Linked DNA regions of Homo sapiens: region 2 is linked to region 1. The links are contacts of gene promoters, found by promoter capture Hi-C in blood cells and fetal thymus (Javierre and others, 2016). All regions are on one chromosome and are shown on one strand. Each heading gives the region's core, a stretch centred on a gene start or on the middle of the fragment in contact. The rest is flanking DNA. Distances are from core to core; before and after follow the strand shown.

Region 1 (7,305 bases), core at 1,779-4,278:
GGCAAGTGGAAACAAGTGTTCCTGGGAGCCAGAGGTGGCAACTCATAATCTTCCCTGAAACATTGGCCCCTCTACCCCAGCTGCCCATCCTGAAACCCCCTGGAGTTCTCACCTGCCAGCCCCTCTGCCTGCCCTACTGTTCTGGGCCCACCAGCAGGTGTCACTCAGATGCCCAGGGCAGAGCCTCCCCAGAGCCTCCTCTCCTGGAGCCCTGAGAGCGGGTGCAGTGGGGAGGGACTTGACTTTAACTGGCGACCATGGAGTGAAGAATATGCTGGAGAAAGCCACTGTCTGCATTTCTCCCTCCTCCCTGTGCTCCTCTCCTCCTCCTTTTCCTCCTCCTCTTTCTCTCTGTTCTAGAACCTGAATAGTTGGGCCTGGCTGAGGCAGAGAGATGCATCTACAATTTCCAGGCCACCCAGACTGTTTTCTCACCTCCCCTCTGTTCTAAGTGACTGCTCCCTCCTCATCTCTCCCCACCAAAACCCACTTCCCCCCACCTCTGGCTTTCTGGAGAACATGAGCAGGCCCCAGGTCAGGGCCTTCCTCAGCTCATGGATCATGTCCCCCAAAAGGGTATTGACCCAGGGTCAGCCCCAGAACCACATCCCCCAGGAAGGCCTCTTATGCAAGAGGTTTGAGTCCTTTGGACATCTTTACTTCCAGAAAGCAAACAGGAGGGGCCAGGTGCTACCGCCTTCCGGTGATCATTGTAGCTACTTATTGAGCACCTACTGTGTGCCAAGCAAGTGCAAAGTAGCTTGCTAGGTGCTTCATGCTCCTCCACTCCTGCAAGTTAATTCCTCCAACAGTATTTGGCAAGTGCCAGGCACTGCTCTAAGCACATGAGCTACCTTGGTGAACAAGGTTTCTCCATGAGTACATGCTGCTTATTGTTTGTACCTGACAGGTGGGGGAAACTGAGGCTTAAAATTTGCCCCAAGTGGTGAAGCAGAGATTCTGTTTCAAGGTATCTGACTCCAAAGCCACACTATCTGCCCTCCATCTCCTTTCCTCTCCACTGGAGTAGAGGGTGCATGGGTCTGACTCAGGGTGGGAATCCCTGCCCTCAAATGCTTACACAGTTGCTTTGAGAGGGGAGGGATGACGTCTGCACACCTGAGACGTCTCAAGAGGTTTCATCCTCAGTATGTGAGTGACCCTGTGGCCCAGGCTGAGTACCTAGGGCCCACGGGACACAGAAGACAATGATTTGAGCTGTGTGTCTCATGGGTGAGAGGATGCCTGAAAGTGGGGAGCGTGAGGCCAGGCTTTTCAGGAGTGGGGGGATCATGAACTTGGGGAGATAAAGGAAGAGTGAAATCTGGATGGGGAATGGGCTGTTCAGAGGCTTGGAGGTGGGAAGGATCCCAAGACAACTGAAGATGACAGGCATGATTGAAGGCTGGGAGGGAGTGCCAGGCGCAGGGATGTGCGTGCAGGAGAAGGGTGGGGAGGCCGTGCTGCTTTTGATGGCTGAGGAGGTGAGACTGGAGCTAATGGGCCATCAGGAATCTCCCAGCAGAGTAATGACAAGATGCAAATGGCGTTGGGAGATGATCCTGACGGCATGGTGTATGGGACCTGGGAGCTATCACAGGAGCCCCCAGAGGGCCTGGCTTAGGGGGGAAGCTACGTTCAACCAGACTAGCCTTCACTGCCACTTATCCCCAAGTCTTCAAGAGAAAGTCACACTGAGTCCTTCCCTCCTTCACGCCCCTGCCCAGACTCTCCAGCTCTACCTACACCTCATCAATGCCACAACTTTGTAATACAGGACTGGGGGGCAACAAGGTTACCTCTCATGGAGGGTCTGACCAAGGAGCAACCTGGAAGAGGATGAGATGGGTGATTTCGAACAAGGGCACAGCCAGGGCTCCAGAAATGCTGTCGGTGATCTGGGGCAGGGGGCATGGCCTCTGTGGGGGAACCTCAAAGTGGGTGATGCTTGCGTGGCAGCACATGATCCTAGGCCAGCCACAGAGAGACTGAACTAGGGAAAAATCCCCCTTTGCCACCCATACCCTCTTACTGCCAGGGGCAGCCTTCCCCTAGCTAGGAGAACCTGGGGTCGACCCAGCTCTTAGACAGAGAAGTTACCCCCAAACCCTGTGTGACATGAGTGAAGATTTGGGCGTGGTAGCCCACAAAAATATTCCCCCTCCTCCTCTGTTGGACTCTACAGTTTCACAATCAGTGTTCTATTCCTTTGGCTTAAGATTTTTGACCCAAGTTATTTTTTTAATGGTGCCACTTTAAGTTGTTATCATGTATCCACACCTTAGTATGAATGAGTCAATCTGATCCTTTTCCAGGAGTCGATTTCGTTGTTGATAGAGATGAAGGAAGGCTTTAAAATCCTAGAGTCTAGGACAGTGGGGTGGGGGAGACTGGTGAGGGGAGGATCAGGATGCTGGGGCAAAGAAGGGGCAAAGAGAGAAGAGAGGAGGGCACAGAAGGGAGAGGGTGGACGAGCCTGGGAGGGATGGGGGCAAATCACTCACTTCGTGATTTGGGGATGGGGTGATCAGAGATAGCCTGAGCAGAGACCGTAGTACAGCCTTTTACCAACTCCCTCTCCCCACTTGGGTGCCTGGACCCCCTGTTCCTGTGTCTTCATATCTCCTCGATGCAACAGCCTGGAGCGCAAACTTTCTGGGATATGACCCCAGCCTGGCTTCCTATTCTGCCGTCGCCACCCGCAGCTGGACAGGACAGGGGCTCTTGGCAGATCGGCAGGGGCGCAGTCCTGGAGACCAGGACACTCTGGGAAGGGGGCGCGCGGAGGTTTAGGATCGAAGCGGCAGGGGCCGCGGGGCTCTGCGTCCAGGGCCGGGGCAAGGGGACCCGGCCAGCGGGAGGCTCACCTGCAGGACACGGTGATCTCCACCTTGGTGGCCGGGATGCTGCCCGCCAAGGAGTCGAACTCGCTCAGCGACGCCATGTCCTCAGGCTGCTCCATCGCCCACCGCACCCCCCACCCCAAATTAGTCAATCCCTGCGCGATTCACGCCTCCTCCGGAGCGACTGGAGCCCTGGGCTCTCCCCCAACTCCAGAGCCTGGGCTGGGCGGCAAGGGGAGGAGAGAGGAGCGCGAAGAGGGGGCGTGGGAAGTGAGAGAGGGAAGAGGGCGGAGGGAGCGGGGGCCGCGGATCGAGGAGGGGGCTCGGGTGACGCCGCGAGGAGGCTAGGGGCCCAGTGGGGAAGGGCAAGGAGCCCAGGGAGCGGGGGCACAGCGGGGAAGGCAGAGAGGGGCGCGGGGAGAGGGGCTCGGGGAGAGGGCACCGGGAGGGAAACGCGGAGTCGTGGAGAGGGGCACCAGGAGAGGGACGCGCGTCTGTGGGCAGAGGTAGAGGGGATGCAGAAGACAGGGAGAGGGGCGTGAGGAGCGGGAGGCGCCGGATGGGGCGCTGGCGGCGGGGGTGGCGGGGCGCCGGCAGCGCGGAGCCCGAGCGCCCGGGCTGCGCCGCCTCTCCCTGGGTCTTGGCGCCGGCGGCGACGGGGCTGAGACGCGGCTGCGAGCGCCACCTCCTCGGCTCGGGCTTCGGCTCCGGGGCGCCCGGGCTGCGGGAAAATCAAATCTGCCCGAAGCCGCAGCCTCCCGCCGCCCGGGAACGCCAGAGGGGGCGCCCGCAGGGGCCGGGGCGGGGCCGCGGGCGGGGTCTGCGCGCAGGGTGAGTGTGAGCGTGTGTGTGTGCGCGTGTGTGTGTGTGTGCGCGCGTGGCGGGCCGGGGGACGCGGTCCAGATGCTGGGGACGTGGCGGGTGACAGCAAGAGGTGGTCCTGGTCGCGCGCATCTTCATTTGCGCCCGCCCCCTCTCACCACCCCTATCTCCCATCAGGGGTCTCCATCCTGGGGGAGGGGGAGGGTTATGGGAACCAACGGGCGCCTTTTTGAGAAAGGTCTATGCAGGGTTGAGAGGGGGCATAAGTGGGAGGGAGGTGTGCAAAAAAGATCCCCTCCCAGGGGCTTGGGTGTGGAGGGTCTCTGCTGAGTGTGCGCCCTACTCGGGGGCGGGTCTCAGTTCAGAAACAGACCCTACATCTCCTTCTGGGGAGGTGTGTGGGGGCGACCCCAGTGCCAGGAGGGACTACCTCGGTTTCCCAGTGGCCCAGGTGGGGTCGGTGCATGGGCGCCTCCCCCATCCGTGGTTCCCGCCAGCCGCGGCCTCGCCAAGTCGGCTGCCGAAACCACGCGCCAGCGCCCTTCCACTCCCCCGCCCGTCGTGACCACACGACTGAGCCAGCCTCCAGGTCTAGAAGCTCCTGCCACCCAGTCTGGTGGCAACCAGACTGGGAGATCGGCCCGAGCTCCCTGGGCTTCTATGCAGCCAGCACCGAGTAGGCGCGTGCTGTGTGCCTGGCGAGCGAGGGGAGAGTTGGGACACCTCTCCTGCAGTCCTCTTCCCAGCCAAGCCCCTCGCGATCCCCCGCCCTAGCCCAGCCTTGCCCTCCCGGGCATGAGGTTGCAGCGCAGAGGCGTCTCCCTGAGTAAGGCTGCACACGTAGACTTGACTCTAGCCCATCCTCAGCCTCAGCCTAAGCTTTGCCGAGCTGGAACCTCCACTTCCTCGCCCACCGCCTGGCACATCGAAGCCGATGTGCCTCGGGCCGGCGGGGAGGCCAAAAACCTGGTGCTGGGCTGGGCAGAGTTGCGCTCTCTGGGCCTTGTTTGTGGCAGCGGGACCATAAGGGGCTCCTCCGGATTCTGTTTGAAGTCAATTCCTGGAACATCAGATACTGTCAGTCAAAGATAAATACAAGAACACATTCCTCTGCCTGTTACAATTTCCCCATGGCTCAGAATCAGCTGGACTGGGTTCTGCCTCCTGGAACAGGCAGCAAGGGACAGAGGCTGTTAATTCCCCTGACAGCCAGGCACAGCTGGGTCAGGAGGCCCCACTCCAAGGAGAATAATTCTGTCTTCCCTTCCTGAGGATGCAAAACTGAACTCGGAATCTCTATGTTCCCCATCCCCCACATACCTGGCATAAACAATGCTCAAAGCATGCTTGTGGAATATGTTCTCCATTCATTCCAGGAGTGTTTACTGAGCATCTGCTGTGTGCCTGGCCCAGTGACAGGGCCTTGGGAAACCTTGTTCATAACAATAATTAGCATCGTTTTATTTTCAAAGATCTGGGCCAGACACCATGCTTACTTTTTTTTTTTGAAATATTAGTCACATACCATAAAATTACCATTTTAAGTTGTATAAATCAGCGGTTTGTAGCATATTCACAGGGACCGTGCATGATTTTAAATTCTCAAAATAATTTTATAAGTGAGATATTATTACTTTTAATGGGAAAAGCTGCAGTTACTTTGCACCAACCTAATATTATCTACATTTAATAAGTAAGGAAGCCAGTGCCCAGAGAGGCTAAGTAACTTACTCATCATCACCCAGCTGGGGACTGGCATAGTGAGAATGTGAAACAAGGCAGTTGAGACCAAAGCCTGACTCTGAGCAAGAGGCTCCACTCTCTTTTAGGATAGGGCCAGACGATGGAAAATCATCCATGAAATGAGGCCTTGTTGGGAAAGGCAACAATAGGGAGCCATTGCAGGTTGTTGAGCAGGTGAGTAGTAAGATTGAAGTTCTACCCAGTAACCTTGCAAAGTGACAGCATTTGGAGTAGCAGCCCCAGGGTCTCTTGTAGACACTTGTCTGTGTCACTCCATTCCCTTTTAGTCGTTGCACTTTCACTGCTGGCTATTTGGCAAAAAAAAAAAAAAAAAAAAAGAAAAAGAAAAAAGAAAAGAAAAGAAAAGAAAAAGAAAAAAGAAAAAAATGTATATATATGACACATGCTGTGTGCTGGGTGCAGTCCTAGGCTCAGAGAATAAAAGGCAAAAAGGACACAGTATCTATCCCCAAAGAGTTCCCAGGCTACTGGGAGCCCCAGGACATGAAGAGAGAGAAACCACAGTGCAGCATGAGGAATGCGGTTGAGGTAGGTAGAAAGGGCTCTGGGAGGCCGGGCACAGTGGCTCACGCCTGTAATCCCAGCACTTTGGGAGGCTGAGGCAGATGGATCACTTGAGGTCAGGAGTTTGAGACCAGCCTGGCCAACATAGTGAAACCTCGTCTCTACCAAAAATACAAAAAAATTAGCTGGGCCTGGTGGCAGGTGCCTGTAATCCCAGCTACTTGGGAGGCTCAGGTGGGAGAACTGCTTGAACCTGGGAGGCAGAGGTTGCAGTGAGCCGAGATCGCACCACTGCACTCCAGCCTGGGCGACAGAGCGAGACTCCATCTCAAAAAAAAAAAAAAACAAAAAAACGGCTCTGGGAGAAGAGTGACCAATGGTTCTGCCCCAGGAACAGGAAGAAGGGAGGGTCAGGGTCAGGGGAAACTGCAAAAAGGAAGTGATACTGAGATGGACATTGAGGTGATGTCTTAGAAGTTTGTTTCCCCTAGAAGCTGACCCTGAGACAAAGATTTGTATGTGAGTAGTACATTTGGGAGGTGTCTTGGTCTGTTCCTGCTGCTATAACAAAATTATTTAGCCTGAGTAATTTAATAATAATAGAAATGTATTTCTCACACTTCTGGAGGCTGAGAAGTTCAAGATCAAGGTGCCGGCAGGTATGGTGTCTGGTGAGGGCCAGGTCTCTGCTTCCAAGATGGTCCTTGTTGCTGTGTCCTCCAGAGGGGCAAACACTTCCTCACTTGGTGGAAGGCAGAAGGGCAAAAAGGGGCCTAGCTCAGGGATAATGCCTTTCATAAGGGCATTAATCCATTCATGAGGGCAGAGGTGAGACGGGGAAGGGAAGGTAGACAATAAAAGGTGCTTTATCAAGCCAGTCATCACTACAGGCAACTAGGGTATAGTCCTGCTGCAGAACTCTGGGAGACTGTAGAACGCATTTCAAACTTAGGCTGCCAGAGGGGTGAGGAAGCTGGGATATGTTTATACCAACTTCTGCCAGTCATTGGCTCAGTGGCTGAGGGCTGCTTTTGGAGGGTATTAATTTCCTGGCACTTCTGGCCTAACCAGCACAGAGAGGCCAATGCAGGTTCCAGAAGCCAGAGAAAGCCTTAGGCAAAGAAAGGCAGTCGGGTGTGGGACTGGAGCACACTGAAGTGGGAAAAGTTAGAGGCTGCAGTGGGCACTGGCAAGGCAGCGGCTGCTACAGATGATGAGCTTCTGCCTGGAGGACAAGGCTGTGCAGGCATTCCTGGCAGGGGACTAGCATGAGGAAGGGCCAGAGATCTGCGACTGGGGGCTGTAGTGTGGCTGGAGCACAGGGTCAGGGTTGGTGGAGGTAGAATATGAGGCCAGGAGGCGATGGGCCATG
Region 2 (7,305 bases), core at 2,148-4,647, 120 kb before region 1:
TACTTGTTATAGCTCAGAGAAGTGGGATGGGCCAGAATGATCAAGGAAGGCTTCCTGGAGGAGGTGAGGCTTCATGTGGGTCTTGAGGATGGACAGGATTGGATGAGGAGGAGGAATGGGGAGCACATACCAGGTGAGAAAGATTGCCTGAGCAAGGACTGGGAGGAGACCTGGCCATGGGGAGAGCAAGGGATGGTGAGGGCTGCAGGTGGGATGGGTGTGACACCACCTACCTGCCCCTCCCCGATCTTTGCTTCCCTGCTTCATTTCCAGTTTTCCTGGAGCGGGTGAGAAGACCCCAGACCCTCAGGCTGCCTCCCCTGAGGAGGCCCCCCTGCCTGGGCTATTTGGGGACAACGATGACTGGGACCAGCTACTGAGCAACTTTGGCAGCCCTCCGCACGGAGCCCTGCAGCTCTGCTGGAGCCCGCCCCCGACCCCAAGAGCCACCTCAGGCCCCCAGACACCCCGTGTGGTCAGGCAGATCTCCATCTCGGAGCCACAGGCTTTTCTATTTGGTCAGGAGCCATCTTCAGATCCAGATGGGGCTCCAAGGACCCCACCTGGGGTGACTTTCAGCGCCAAGGACAATAAAGGAGTGGACCCACATGAGCAGGACATTAGAGCAGAGCAGCCTGTTGAACCGCACGACCCGGACCCCAACCAGGAGCCAGGGTCCACACCCGAGGGCCGCCTCCTCTGGGGTCTCTCAGGAAGCCTGGTGGCACCTGCATTCAAAGTGCTCATTCCTTTGGAGGATGGGCCCCCTCCCCCTGCGAACTCTCCCCCTCCCCAGGCCCCAGCTGGGTCCAGCAAACAGATCCAGGCCTCAGACCCAGATGACAAGGGCCCTGGGTCTTGGGCTCCTCCCAGCGGGGCTCAGCCTGGGGCTGGAGCAGGACCCCAGGAACCCACACAAACCCCTCCCACCATGACTGAGCGGGAAACCCAGCCCGGACCCTCACCCACAACTGCCCTCACAGGAGTGGGCCCAGCCAAGCCGCCCAGGCAGAGAGATGCCCTCCAGCAGGACCTGCATGCCACTGGCTCTGAGCCAAGACTGGGGACCCAGAGGGCTAGAGCCCTCACCCTGGGGCCAGCTGAGCCCTTCCAGGGCCTGGAATTTGTGGGTCCGGTGCCCACAGAGAGGCTGGAGCAGGGCCAGGCGGGCCCAGCGGTGCAGGAGGGCCTTCCTGAGGGGCTAAGAGAAGCTCATGGCCAGGTCCTTGGGCTGGGTGAGCTGTCTGCCTTCCCCCACCAGGAGCTGGAAGAGGAACCCAGGTCTGAGGAAGGAAAACAAGAGGGCAGAGGTGGGCAGGACCTCAGTTCAGAGCAGTCAGAGCAGTCGGTTGAGGCTCACGGCCTAGAAACTGCGCATTCGGAACTCCCCCAGCAAGACTCTCTGCTTGTTTCTCTCCCATCTGCCACACCACAGGCTCAGGTGGAAGCAGAAGGCCCCACTCCTGGAAAATCGGCACCTCCAAGGGGCTCTCCTCCCAGGGGGGCTCAGCCTGGGGCTGGAGCAGGACCCCAGGAACCCACGCAAACCCCTCCCACCATGGCTGAGCAGGAAGCCCAACCCAGGCCATCCCTCACGACTGCTCACGCAGAAGAACAAGGCCCGCCTCACTCCAGGGAACCAAGGGCAGAGAGCAGGCTTGAAGATCCAGGAATGGACTCCAGGGAAGCTGGGCTGACCCCATCCCCGGGAGACCCCATGGCTGGAGGGGGACCCCAGGCCAACCCTGATTACCTCTTCCATGTCATCTTTCTGGGAGACTCCAACGTGGGCAAAACATCCTTCCTGCACCTGCTGCACCAGAATTCTTTCGCCACCGGATTGACAGCTACCGTGGGTAAGGGCATTGGGGAGGGCGGCAGGGAGCAAGGAGAGACGCAGGGGCCAGGGCCAACGAGTGAGAGCGGGCCCAGACCAAGCCCTCCCTGAGGAAGCTGCAGGTTCTGCCCTGGCCACGGGCCCTGCATTAGACATTGTTTTATATGGGCATAACCTTACTATTTCACTAATCGTCTCTAATTACAGGTAATTTGTTTTTTCTGCATTGATCTGATTAGCTTATAAGGTGCCACATCAACAATGCACCCTGCAATTTAGGTGCCTGCGAGAGTTGATGGTGAAAACAAGCAAGTATCCACTCATGTGGCCCATGGGCAGGCCAGAGCAGGTTCTGTGCTGGTTGGATTTGCTCATGACTAGCTCCAGGCTGGGCAGCCATGGTCTGGCAAGAAGTCACCTTGGGCAAGTTGGATATTTTACACAGAATGTATTTGTAGAGTGTGGTAAATTAGGAAGCCAGGTGCCTGAGTTCAAATCTTAGCCCTGCCACTTATTAGGGTCTGAATTTGGACAAATGATTTAACCCTTTTGAACCCCCAAATCCTCATCTGCATAATGGGGACAACAGTAGTGCTGCCTTCCTAGAGTGGTTGAGGACTAGTTAATATGTCAAGATCTTAGAATCATAACTGACATGTAGTGAGTACTCAGTAAGTATTAGTTATTATGGTTGTTATTATTATTATAAGTAAATATTTGATCATGTCTAACTCAGTGGCTCCTGCAAGAAATGGCCGAAAGCAGAGAGCCTTCCCTCCCTAAAAGTATCAGGATATGTGGCCACTGAACCCTGTACAGAGCTACAGAAAAGCAAACCCAGCCGGGCGCAGTGGCTCACACCTGTAATCCCAACACTTTGGGAGGCTGAGGCGGGCGGATCACAAGGTCAGGAGATCGAGACCATCCCGGCTAACGCAGTGAAACCCTGTCTTTACTAAAAATACAAAAAATTAGCCGGGCATGGTGGCGGTTGCTTGTAGTCCCAGCTACTCGGGAGGCTGAGGCAGGAGAATGACGTGAACCCAGGAGGCGGTGCTTGCAGTGAGTCGAGATCGCACCACTGCACTCCAGCCTGGGCGACAGAGCAAGATTCCGTCTCCCAAAAAAAAAAAAAAAAAAGCAAACCCGAGGGAATGGAGGGGAGACCCACCTAGGGACAAAGAAGTCACGCCTGTCTTTGTATTAGACCAGGGCACATGCCGACTGGGGATCAGAGCCAGACCAGTCGGTAAATGACAGCCCCCCACAAGAGAGGCCTGGGGCAGGTTCTCAAACTTTTCTTGCCCAAGAAGCCTCACCTGGGAGCTAGTTAGAAATGCAGTTCCCTCGGGAAGAGGAAACCTATAGCAGGCTGGCCTGATGTTGAGTGGGGTCACAGGTTCTACAACACTACCATTATTTTATTTTATTTATTTATTTATTTATTTATTTATTTATTTATTTATTTTTTGAGATGGAGTCTCGCCCTGTCACCCAGGCTCCAGTGCAGTGGCACGATTTCTGCTTACTGCAACCTCTGCTTCCTGGGTTCAAGTGATTCTCCTGCCTCAGCCTCCCAAGTAGCTGAGACTACAGGTGTGTGCCACTTCACCTGGCTTATTTTTGTACTTTTAGTAGAGATGAAGTTTCACCACGTTGGCCAGGCTGGTGACCTCAGGTGATCTGCCCGCCTCAGCCTCCCAAAGTGCTGGGATTACAGGCGTGAGCCACTGTGCCTGGCCAAGGCTACCATTATTAGTCACCTAAGCTACTGTTTACTGACCACCTCCCATGCACTAGGCATCTTCCATACATGTCTTATTCCTTACAACAGCCTTCCTTAGAATGGAGCCTCCTCCTTTATTATGTGGTAAGAAGTTCTCACAAAATTCAATCAAGAAAAACACAGCTGCATAATCGTGAAACCAACCAACCAATCAACCAACCAACCAACCAACCAACCAACCAACCAACCAACCAACCAGGCAAGCCGGCATGCACTGCTAGCCTGCTGGGAGTACCTGAGATCCAAGTGCTTGGTCCAGATCTGTCCCAATCCCAAGCTATGGTTTGCTGCCCCCCGGTGGCTATCGTCTTTTCTGGTTTAAATACCACAGGAAATGATCCTGCCTTCATAGGTCAATATTTCCCTACCTAGTGTCACCTTCCCTCCATTCCTGCTCCCCCACCTCACAAAATAAGAACTCTACCCTGCCTGCATTTGAGGACGGGACCAGATAGAGAATCAGAGCCAACGGAGTTATATTTGAATGTACATTTTCCATATCTATCCCCATTTTACAGATGAGGAAAGCAGAGAATTGAAGACCTGGTTCAGTTTCTTGCCCTAGCTGGGCCCCCAAAGTTAAGGCCACCTACCTTAAAAGCCCTGCCTCCACACCAGAAGTTTTATCCTCTTTTCAGTTCAGAATTGCATGCTCTCTGGGTCACTTAAAACAGCATTTTTTTTTTTGAGATGGAGTTTCACTCTCGTTGCCCAGGCAACAAGATTGTGCAGCTGCGCGATCTCGGCTCATTGTAACCTCCGCCTCCCGGGTTCAAGTGATTCTCTTGCCTCAGCCTCCTGAGTAGCTGGGATTACAGGCATGTGTCACCACGCCTTTTAAAACAGCATTTTAATCCTCCAGCCACTCTGCAGTGTAGGTCTTTCTAATTTGCCACTTTGCAGACAAGGAAAGAGAGGCTCACAGAGGTGAAGTGACTTGCCTGAGGTCCTGTAACCAGTGTAACAGTTGCCTGAAGCCAGCATTCCTTCTGCCCCTCTGGGCTCCTTGTCTCCCCTGCTGTCTCGTTAAGAGAGGAAAGTGCATGCAATAATTAGGGAATGGAACAAAGAGTACTGTAAAAATAAAATAATGAAACTTATATTCTGGGTGGCCTAAGGAATGAACAACATAGACAAGGTGCCCTGTGTTGGCACAACTTGCGGCAGGGAGGTCTGGGAAGGCTTCTTGGAGGAAGTGGGTCCTCGAGTATGGATGGGATGCAGAGCCGAGGGGAAGCCCGGCAGCCAAGGGCTCCATCGCACCGCAGCTGGTACAGGGGACAGGTGTATACTGGGGTAGGCCTTGGCTAGGAGTCCTGGATGGTAACTTAGTAGGCTTCACCCCTCTCTATGTGTCCTAGGAGTAGATTTTCGGGTCAAAACCTTGCTGGTGGACAACAAGTGCTTTGTGCTGCAGCTCTGGGACACAGCTGGCCAAGAGAGGTAACAGGCACTGTATATCAGTGTGTCAGGAACCTAGGCTGAGCGTAGGGGTGCAGAGGGACAGGGAGCAGCCCTAATAACACAGGCAGGAGGCAACTGCCCCCCAAGGATTCAGGAGGTCAGGGAAGGAGAGATGAGTCAAGCCCAAGGCAGGGGAGAGAGGGCAGCAGAGCCAGAGGTCCCTCAGCCTGGCAGGGCATATATTAGGGCTTCCCAACATGGTCATTAGGGGACAGCCACCCAATCACCTGTCCTTCTAAAAATGCTGGTCTTCTACTTTCAACCTAGGCAGTAGTGATCAAAAATTTTTTTTTCTTCTTGAGATGGAGTCTCGCTGTATTGCTCAGGCTGGAGTACAGTGGCGTGATCTGGGCTCACTGCAACCTCCACTTACCGGGTTCAAGCGATTCTCCTGCTTCAGCCTCTGAGTAGCTGGGACTACAGGTGCCCACCACCACATCCAGCTAATTTTTGTATTTTTAGTAGAGATGGGGTTTCATCATATTGGCCAGGCTGGTCTCGAACTCCTGACCTCGTGATCTACCTGCCTCGGCCTCCCAAAGTGCTGGGATTACAGGCATGAGCCACGGCACCTGGCAGTGATAAAAACTTAAAAGGCATATCTTATTTGATTCTGCAGTTCCACTTCTAGAAATTCATTCTATAAATAGACTCATATGACTATAATAACAAAGGGACCAGGACCAGTCATAGTATTCTCACTTGTGTTATGAAACATAGGAAACAACCTAAATGTCCATCAATAGGGGACCAGTTAAATAAAGGAGGGTCAATCTACCCAGTATAACACCATAAAGCCACACAAAGACTGAGGACTCTCTTTATGTACTAATAGGGATTTTTTTTTTTTTTTTGAGACAGAGTCTTGCTCTGTCACCCAGGCTGGAGTGTGGTGGTGTGATCTCAGCTCACTGCAATCTCCACCTCCAGGGCTTAAGTGATTCTTGTGCCTCAGCCTCCTGAGGAGCTGGGACTACAGACACATACAACCACATCCAGCTAATTTTTGTATTTTTAGTAGACACAGGGTTTCACCATGTTGGCCAGGCCGATCTGGAACTCCTGACCGCAAGTGATCCTCCTGCCTCAGCCTCCCAAAGTGCTGGGATTACAGGCGTGAGCCACCGTGCCCAGCCCGATAGGGAAATTTCTCCAAGACATCCTGTTAACTGGAAAAAAACAAAATGCAGAACACTGAATATTAATGAGTATGATGAATGTTTTACACTGTATTTGTATAAAATAGAGGGGGAAAGATGTATGTGTATGGGTGTATATATGTGTGTGTATATATATGTATATACGTAAAATGCCTCTGGAAAAATATTTAAGAAACTGATAACCCTGGTTGCCTCTGGGGAGGGGGACTGGGTGGCTCCAGGATGGGGCAGAAGGAAGGAGACTTTTCATTGAGTTCTCCTTGAGACCTTTTGAAATTTGAGCCATGAGAACTGTTACCTAGTCAACAATAACTACACTGTACGAAGAAAAGCATACGGACATGCTCTGTGGGAAGCAATTAGAAGTAGGATAGGTTACTTCTCCCACTTTGCAGAGGCCAGGGCCTGGGGTCTGGATGCCTGGTGTGGCCTCATGCAGACTCTCTGGGCAGGTACCACAGTATGACGCGACAGCTGCTCCGCAAGGCTGACGGGGTGGTGCTCATGTACGACATCACCTCCCAGGAGAGCTTTGCCCACGTGCGCTACTGGCTAGACTGTCTCCAGGTGAGCAGATGGCTGCTGGGGTTGGCCCCAGTCCCTCCAGTCAAGAGGGATCTTATATCCTGCCCACTCCCTCTTTTCTCCCAGGATTACAAATGACATGACAGACATATGGGTGACACCACCCACTGAGGGCATGTGGTTGGATGAGCTGGGAATGCAGTAGTACAAAGAAACCACAACCACATAGTACAGACTTCAAACCAAACTACTTCCTTTATCCTGTGAACATTCTCTTCCTACATATGGCAGCTGTTTGTAATGTCTTCTTCTTACACTTGAGGCTAATGTAGTTCTTGTGCCATTCCATGTGGTAATTCCTCTGTTCACACATCTCTAGTTTTTCCCCTGCTTACTTCCTCAAAGCATATATACTGAAATTCTGCAGTGTGTACTAGCACAGCAGAGGGGTGTGAAGTTAGCCATGTTGCCTTCTCTCTGGAAGTTTCTAGTTTAGCAAAAGAAGCAGGATAAGGTAATGTGTGAAGAGGGGA

What was found. Contacts are between HindIII fragments. The CHiCAGO score rates a contact against its expected background, and 5 or more counts as called.
Region 2: a fragment that was not itself captured here is called in contact with the fragment with the promoter of CPNE5 in region 1 in 17 of 17 cell types (activated CD4 T cells, erythroblasts, endothelial precursors and 14 more); the score reaches 13.4 in activated CD4 T cells.

What each region holds. Positions count from the first base shown.
Region 1 is chr6:36,836,416-36,843,720 of GRCh38, forward strand. It overlaps CPNE5 (copine 5), which reads right to left and starts at 3,029. Exons shown (of 21, transcript NM_020939.2): 1 at 2,868-3,029. The coding sequence starts at 2,962. RefSeq lists a silencer at 3,493-3,702 and an enhancer at 4,387-4,937. The HindIII fragment of the contact is 11,867 bases long and covers 1-4,542 here.
Region 2 is chr6:36,720,878-36,728,182 of GRCh38, forward strand. It overlaps RAB44 (RAB44, member RAS oncogene family), which reads left to right. Exons shown (of 14, transcript NM_001257357.2): 9 at 274-1,856; 10 at 4,985-5,066; 11 at 6,700-6,814. Among named protein-coding and RNA genes, the nearest start is that of RAB44, 27 kb to the left of the region's middle. RefSeq lists enhancers at 3,964-4,023, 5,782-5,921. The HindIII fragment of the contact is 9,710 bases long and covers 1-7,305 here.